3 separate regions of the Homo sapiens genome follow, and all the other regions are linked to region 2. Evidence: promoter capture Hi-C in human tissues and cell types (Jung and others, 2019). All regions are on one chromosome and are shown on one strand. Each heading gives the region's core, a stretch centred on a gene start or on the middle of the fragment in contact. The rest is flanking DNA. Distances are from core to core; before and after follow the strand shown.

The links. The method cuts DNA at HindIII sites, captures the fragments that hold promoters and counts their contacts. A contact is called where the count stands out against the background at its distance.
Region 1: a fragment that was not itself captured here is called in contact with the fragment with the promoter of LIPG in region 2 in 1 of the 25 tissues and cell types used here (spleen).
Region 3: a fragment that was not itself captured here is called in contact with the fragment with the promoter of LIPG in region 2 in 1 of the 25 tissues and cell types used here (dorsolateral prefrontal cortex).

What each region holds. Positions count from the first base shown.
Region 1 is chr18:48,672,050-48,674,952 of GRCh38, reverse strand. All of the region lies in intron 6 of CTIF (cap binding complex dependent translation initiation factor), which reads right to left. LOC105372107 (a long non-coding RNA gene) reads left to right here. Exons shown (of 4, transcript XR_007066460.1): 4 at 1,277-1,428. Among named protein-coding and RNA genes, the nearest start is that of MIR4743, 2.9 kb to the right of the region's middle. The HindIII fragment of the contact is 5,935 bases long and covers 1-2,903 here.
Region 2 is chr18:49,560,638-49,563,339 of GRCh38, reverse strand. LIPG (lipase G, endothelial type) reads right to left here and starts at 1,283. Exons shown (of 10, transcript NM_006033.4): 1 at 935-1,283. The coding sequence starts at 1,031. RefSeq lists an enhancer at 576-1,076. The HindIII fragment of the contact is 10,319 bases long and covers 1-2,702 here.
Region 3 is chr18:50,206,214-50,208,967 of GRCh38, reverse strand. It overlaps the pseudogene RN7SL310P. Among named protein-coding and RNA genes, the nearest start is that of MYO5B, 12 kb to the right of the region's middle. The HindIII fragment of the contact is 4,732 bases long and covers 1-2,754 here.

The sequences.
Region 1 (2,903 bases), core at 101-2,600, 890 kb after region 2:
CCATAAAACCTGGCTATTGGCTAGCTCCTATCCCAGCGTACCTGCTCCTTTCCCTCCAGCCACCAGTGTGGGAAGGAAGACCTTGGGGACAGTTAACACCACCAACAGACCCTTTACTTAACTAGCTCACTAAATGCCTTTTCAGAGTGCAGAACTATTCCTGGCAGCAGGGGTTCACAGAGGTATAGGGTGAGCCCTGGACACAGACACCTACTGTCTACCCTGTTGCCCCACATCCTTGTGGGGGCTCCAAGAGCCTGAGTCCAGCAGCTCCAGAGATGAAGTTCCTGAGGTCAGCACTGCAGTGAGACTCACCCCTGGATTCATTGCCAGTTGTGGAAACACAGCCAGATGGAGTCACCAGGAATAGGGGCCTTGGCTTTGGCTGGAGAGGAGCTTGGCCAGACGCCTAGGTGTCAGCATCTGACCCCCAGTGGAGGCATCACCTCCTAAAACCACTCATTGTGGCATGCGCTCTGTGTGTAACCCACTGAGAGATAAGCTAGGGCTCCCAGGAGATCAACAGGCATTCAGTGTGGGGGCCCATGGCGCCCTCTGCTTTGTACTCAGCCACACATTCACGCCCCAGACTGCAGGAGCTGCAGCAGCACAGGGGAGGAAGGTGGGGTGTACTGGGAGAGGACCCAGACTTTGCCCTTCAGGGACTGTGACCTGGGCAAGGCACCAGCACTTGCTCGGGCATTTGCAGCTTTGAATGCATGTGGTAATCTGTGCATGTCTCATTTCCTCTACTAGGCTGTGCCTCTCGTGGGGAACTGTATCTTATGTGATCAATTCTCTCTCTCTAAAAGGCTAGGGCAGAGCACTTGTCCATGAAGATGAGTTAAGTGAGCAAGTGAAGGAAAGAGGAAGATTTGGCAGAGGCACTTGAGGCTTACAGAACAGCCATGTGCTCCCCTTCTTCCCGCTCCCCTGCAGAAGTGTCAGCCCTTGCAGTTGGGGCGGGGGCATGTGACTAGTTCTGTCCAATGGGCTCTGAGTGGAGCTGATATTTCTGGGCCAAAGCATTTAAGACATACAGCAGGGGTGTCCAATCTTTTGGCTTCCCTGGGCCACACCGAAACAACTGTCTTGGGCCACACATAAAATACACTAATGATAGCTGATGAGCTAAAACAAAAAATTGTAAAATACCTCATAATGTTTTAAGAAAGTTTAAAAATTTGTTTTGGGCCATATTCAAAGCCATCCTGGGCCACAGGTTGGCCAAGCTTGACCTAGAACACGACCCTCCAGCTCTCTTTGCCTGTGCCAGGGCCACTTGGATACCATGGATTGAGATGGCAGGGCCACAGAACGCAATCCACCTGGACCCTGGAGTCCCCAAGGAGCTACCCTGGAGACCAGCTGGACCCTCAGCAGAATTTCAGAAAGTTAGAAATAAAATTCTGTGTGTGATTCCACTGAGATGTGGGGTTTGTTTAGTATTATGCCATGGCCTATAGTGTCCTAATACAGGAGACGATGGAAAAATCCTGTTTTCTTTAACAACAACAACAACAAATGTGTCTCAGAAATCACACCGAGAAGAGCATAACCAGGTTCATGCTGAATTTCTGCTGGGAAGTGGTGGGAGAAACTCAGAGACAGAGGGACGACTGAGTGTCAAGACAGACACAAATCCTGCCTTTCTTGTACACTCTAGACAACACAACAGCACATCTAGAAAGGAGGTTCTTCAGCAGCACTCACTCTAGAGCACCTGGTGCTGGGGTTATGAGGCTGAAGGAAATGGCCCAGCCCTCAGGCAGCCCAGAGTCCAGGAAGGGAGTCTGGCAGTTATGTAAGCAGGTGCGACGTGGTGGGAGCCATGCCACAGAGATGGGGGCAGGGGCTCTGGGGAAATGGCAGGTGGATGCTGGACTCCATCCTGTGCATCTGAGAGGGATCAGGGGAGGTATCCTGAGCCAGAAAAAGGACAGGCAGAGAAGGGCTGAGTGAGATTTTAGGCAGAGGGAACCGCCTGCTGGTGAGAAAGCAAGGAGAGATGGAAGATCAGAACAGATCAGGGGAGGGACTGACAGGGCCACAGGATGGCAGGGGGAGCCCAGGACAGAGGCTGGGCAAGGGTGCTGAGAACATCACAAAGCCTCCTGCCTGCTAAGGAGTCCGAACAGGGACAGAAGGGGCCGGAGATGGGGGTCTGGGCCTCTGTGGGTTGAGAACATGCTGGGGACACAGCTGGTAGGATCTTTATGCCCCTCTTCTTCTGGGGTGCAGAAGTGGAGGGCAGGTAGGCAATGGGCTTGAGGCCAACCTCCCTTTGTCACCCTCTTTCCTTCTTGCCTCCAGGTAGGGAGGGGAGGCCAGCCCTGATTTTTGTCTAAGAAAGTCTCTAGGAAGCCCGCTTATCTATGTACAGGCTCAAGACTCCCATAGGAGGGCTGGAGGTCCTCAGGCTAGAGGTGGGCTTTCCCTCCCATTTGGGGGCCTTCAGCTGGATGCACAATATCTCCTAGGTGAATCTGGAAGTAGGAGGATGTTTTTGGTGGTCACTATGCCTGCCCCTCTCCAGTGACGGCCATTCAGTGGCAGAGGCCAGGAGTCCTAAATATCCCACATTGCATTGGACACGTCCATACTATTAAGAGTTGTCCCCACCACATATGCTAATAGCTAGGCCAGCTGACCCTCAGGACCCAAGGCCAGACGAGTGAACCAGCCAGCCCTATTTATGAGGGGCTTTGAAGAACACTAGGAAAACTCAGATAAGTCATCCCATTGTGCTCTCACAGGACCGCAAATTCCTCAAACACCAAAAGTCTGTGTTTGGGGATCAAGAAGCCTGTCTACCTTGTCCTAAGGGTACCCATGTGAATTGTAGATACTCCAAGGAGCAGTCAAGCCAGGAGCATTATCAGCCAGGACTTTAAGTTTTCAAC
Region 2 (2,702 bases), core at 34-2,533:
GATGAGACCTGCCCTAGGCAATGCTTCTAGTTAGCACCAGAGTTGGAAACATGTTGAGTAAAGCAAGGCTTTCCATTCATTCACAGTAACCCTCCCACACATACACAAGCCCACACAGACCATTTGGCACAACCTCAGCAGACTAGAAGATGAGATGATGGGGTTCAGTTTAGAGGCTCCCCAGCCCTCCACTGCTTATCAGCTGACTTAGTTCTCACTCTGATTCTGACTCCCCCAGAGCTGACTGACTCTGGCTCCCCCAGGGCAAGCTGCCTCCACTGGCAAAGGCTGCCATACAGAACCCAAGAGGAAGAGAAGCTAAAAGCCAGGAGGAGGAAAGGGAGGAGGAGTGGGAAGAGGAAGAGTCGGGGGAGCACAAGAGTGTTGAAGAGGAAAAGGCTGGCAACCTGGGGGAATAGGCCCGGCAGCTTCTAAGCACAAGCGACCCACCAGACGCTCCCTGCAAGCACGAATCAAACCAAAGCCAGCTACCCTGCCACCTGAACTTTCAAGACACCTACACCAAGATTAAAAGGCAGCTCCAGGAGACACAGCTCTGACAGCCTTCTTGCCTCTCAAACCTCCAGGTTCAGGCATGAGGACAAGGTTTCAGAGCTGCTGCCAGGCCGCTCGGCTGGCTGGACAGCACCAGCACTGGCTTAGGGAGCCGTATAAGGGAAGGAGGTGGGGGTGGGAGGGCTGGCAAGAGCCAGCGCACCCTGCCAGCCTTTGCCTTTTGCATGACTTGCCGGGAATGCCCCCATCAGACCAGCAGAGAGACAGGTGGACTCCAAGGTGGATTGGAGGAGAGAATGGGCAGCGCAGTGGGAAAGGAAGAATTTCATAGGAACAAGGAGGGTTTGAAGAATCAGCAAGACAGAGGGGACCCAGCACAGAGAAGTGGCTGGGGGGAATAAAAACAAATTCACGTTACCTTCCAGCCGTCCCTCTGGACCAAAAGGTACGGGGCTCCCCGCAGCAAAGCAATAGCAGAGGCTCCAGAAACAGAGCAGAGGAACGGAGTTGCTCATCCTGCCCCGCCACACCCCCTCCCAAGAAACAGAAGTTTTAAAAAACAAAAACCACCTCTTGGTGTTTCCAGCAATCCCGGCCGGTAAGACCCTTCTCTCGGCCAGGGGCTGGGGGACTGGAGGCAGAGAAGGTGGAAAATGAAAACTTGGCGGCACGGAGCCCGGGCGGTGGCAGGGAGCGAGTGTCAACGGCTTGCCCCAGAACGAGATCTGCCCTCGTCCTGAGCCGCCGGGAGGCAAGGACTCGCTGCTGTCACGCTCCTATAGAGGTAGTTTTTAAAAGTATGGGAGTCATCTGACCCATCGCCAGATGGTGATTTGCATAATTTATTCCCGTCTCTGGGCTCTGATTGGTCACACCTTGCTGACGCCGGAACCGAGACTGGAGAAAGTTTGAATGAAAGCGCTGCACACTCACCGCGTGGACGCCGCACGCTCGGCCCCGCTTCCTCCCGGGCCCGCTCCGCAGGCAGCTGCGACTCCAGCAGCTCCAGCTTTCTCCCACTGCCCTCCTCCGGACACCCAGATCCTCCTCTCCCCACTGCCATCCCAAGTGGCGGAGGCGGACATTTCCCTGAAACTCTGCGTCCGCTGGGGAGGCGATCCCTGGAGAAGGAGAGCATCCTCTCCAAGGCTCAAAGCCACACTCTCTCTGGGAGTGGTCTATCCGCTCCCTGGGCCGGGAGTCCGTCGGGGGAGAGCCACCTGGTCATCCCCTTTGTCCTCCTCTTCTCCCTCCCTTCCCGCCTAGCGAGGGCCGCAACAGGTGCAGAAGGCGCGGCCGCACAATAACCCGGCGGAGCTAAGGGGCTGTGAGCTGCGGCCGGCGCTGGAGGATCGCACAGTACCTGCTCGGAATGCTCGCTCCGCCACTAGCTGCAAAACTCCAAGCGAGCCAGCCAGCTTCTCCGAGGCGGTTCTCTCGTCCGCAATACGTGGGTGATAATGTATCGGCGGCTTAGGGATGTTGGGAAAACTAAGAGTTCACGTAGCAAAGCACTTAGCGAGGCGCGGAGCTCGTGGCAGGCGCTCTCCTACGGTGGGGTGGAGGGCTACGGGAACACCAGGCGACCTCCTCAAAGGGACCAGTGAGCCGAGATTTGGAGTCTAAGACGCGTGGCCAGAGCCCAGTGTCTGCCGATGAGCACTCACTCCTTGGCGAGTGAAATCAAGCATCTCCTTTCTCTCTGTTCTCCATCATTTCCTCCCGGCTCTCCTTCCCTTTATTGATCCGGGTCCTGCGGCAGAAAGCAGCGAGCGGAGGGAGAACTTGGCCCGGAGTCTGCGTCTGGCGCTGGGGAGCGGGGACTGAGCCCGGAACACCGACGGGGCGGCTGCGCCAACAACCACTGCGGACGCAGGGCGGGTACGAGAGGCTGAGAGGCTGCGTCCCGCCATCCAGCCTCGCTCCAGCCGGGAGGATCCGGCTCTTTAAGACGATACCCTTAACCCTGCAGTCGCCCGGAACAGGTCCTGCCCCTGCCTGGGGAGGGAAAACCCCCACAGCAGTCCCGCGCCCCTTCCTCCCTAGCGTCGAGGATCCAGCTGGAGAGACCTGTGCGAGGAAACCGAGCCGGAGCCAGCAGATCCTGTTCCGACCTCGCCTCATTACTTTTGTTACTCCAGCTGCCAGCAGAGCACGCTTTGTCCCTCCCGTGTGCTATCATTCAT
Region 3 (2,754 bases), core at 159-2,658, 650 kb before region 2:
AAGATGAGAAATCACAGGCTTGAGGGTTATAGGGCCACTGCGCCCAGTCTATGGATCAATAATATTTTTAAAAATCAAAATTAATGCAAAAAGTCCACAAAGCATGAAATATCAAAATTTTAAATAAAGACAGGATCTGGCAGTGCTATGCTCAACCATGTTGGAATCAGAGGCCAAAAGAAAAATGTGTGTCTGTATAGACATGCCTTAATGTATTTCTTCAGTGGTTAACTTTTTCCAGAAGTAGATATTATTGATTGATCCAGAAAATATTATTGATGAGCTTGCTTCATTAAAGCCAGTGAAGTTATACTAACTTCTGGTTTTGTTATTATGCAGTTAAAGATTAATTCAGCAGGCTTGAGGTGTCCAACCCTGCACATTCCAAAGAAAGGATGGACCCTTGAGGCTCCCGGGAGATATAACCTGTGAGTTCTTGGAATTCTGCCTGATATGAGTGTCTTTGTCTTCCTAGAGACTTGGACTACCCTAGATAGCTTCTTATTTTTTATTTTAGAGATGGAGTCTCACTCCGTTGCCCAGGCTGGAGTGCAGTGACACGATCATAGTTCACTGCAGCCTCGAATTCCTGGGCTGAAGCCATCCTCTTGCCTCAGATTCCTGAGTAGTTAAGACTATGGGAACATGCCACTACACCCAGCTAATTTAAAAAATTTTTTGTATAGGCAGGATCTTGTTCTGTGCCCAGGCTGGTCTCGAACTCCCAGCCTCAAGCAGTCCTCCTGCCTCAGCCCCTCAGAGCACTGGGATTACAGGCATGAGCTACTGCACCTGGCCTATCCCGGATTTATACTAACGATGTAATTTTTGTTGAAACCTGTTGTTGTTCACCTGGGAACCTGGGCCATGCTGTATTCATTTCACCTCTGGAGGTGGGAGAAATGAAGACTGGCCCCCAGTGAAAACCTTGCAAGTTTGGGTGAGCTTCCCTGCTTGGCAATACTTCCTCCATGTTGTCACACATCATTGCTGGGTGCTCTCCCTACAATTCTCCTTGTTAAGGACAATGGAAGCTTATGTCTCGTCTCTTCTGGACTCTGCCCTGTGCACTTTTTTTCCTTTGCTGATTGTAATCTGCATCCTTTCATTGTAATAAGCCAAAACCATGACTATAACAGCTTTTTTGAATTCTGTGAGTCCTTCTAGCAAATCCTCAAACCTGGAGTCCTGGAGATCCCTTAACACAAGTATAATAAAATATTTAAGCTTAACATAATGTGCATTTTAACAACCCACTTTAAAATTTTTCAATATTTTTTAACTCCTTTAAGATCCTGGGAAAAGTTAACCTTTAAAAATATACAGCTGGGGCTGGGCGTGGTGGCTCACGCCTGTAATCCCAGCACATTGGGAGGCCGAGGCAGGCGGATCACCTGAGGTCGGGAGTTTGAGACTAGCCTGACCAACATGGAGAAACCCTGTCTCTACTAAAAATACAAAAATTAGCCAGGCGTGGTGGCGCATGCCTGCAATCCCAGCTACTCGGGAGACTGAGGCAGGAGAATTGCTTGAACCCGGGATGCGGAGGTTGCAGTGAGCCGAGATCGCGCCATTGCACTGCAGCCTGGGCAACAAGAGCGAAACTCCATCTCTCTCTCTCTCTCTCTATACACACACACACACACACACACACACACACACACACACACACACACATATATATATACAGTTGGGCATGGTGGCACATGTTTATAGTCCCAGCTACTCCAGAGGCTAAAGCAAGAGGATTGCTTGGGTTCAGGAGTTCTGGGCTGTAGTGTGTTATGCTGACCGGGTGTCTGCACTAAGTTTGGCATCAACATAGTGAACTCCCAGGAGCTGGGATCACCAGGTTGCCTAAGGAGGGGTGAACCAGCCCAGGTCAGAAACTGAGCAGGTCAAAATTCCTGATCGAGGCTGTGAACAGCCACCGTACTCCAGGCTGGGCAACATAGTGAGACCCTGCCTCTTAAAAAGAAATACAAGGCTGAGTGCGGTGGCTCATGCCTGTAAACCCAGCAGTTTGGGAGGCTGAGGTGGGTGGATCACCTGAGGTCAGGAGTTTGAGACCAATCTGACCAATGTGGCGAAACCCTGTCTCTACTAAAAATACAAAAATTAGCTGGGCGCGGTGGTGGGCGCCTGTAATTCCAGCTACTTGGGCGGCTGAGACATGAGAATAGCTTGAACCTGGGAGGCGGTTGCAGTGAGCCGAGATTGCGCCATTGCACTCCAGCCTGGGCAACGGAGTGAGACTCCAGCTCAAAAAAAAATGTATATAGGGGCACACATTTTTACCTCTGGCCTTTGGATTCTATATGGCTTAGCATGGCACTCCTGAATCCTGTCTTTATTTAAATTTGTGTTTTTTTTCGTCATGGACCTTTTTTTTTTTTTTTTTTTTTTGCTATTGCATTAAATTATTGTCCTAATGTCTTGAGTACTAAGTTTTCTTGGTGCTTATTTAAATTTTGGGCCTGAGGTGAATGTCAGGGGTAGAGCCTTCCAGGGAAGGAGCCAGTAGCTTCAAATAGCCTGAGGTGAGAATAAGCACAGCATGTTTGAGGAACAGAAAGAAGGGATTGAGGTCGGGAGCTCAAAGTAAGAAAGGAGAAGGGCAGGAAGAGATGAGGTCAAATAAATGGAAGTGGAGAGACCAAGCAGGTGGTTTTTGCAGTAGCCCAGCAGGAAATGGCTGGGGCTGGTGGAGGGTGGCACCACTGGAGATGGAAAAGGTGCCTGATTTGGGATGTG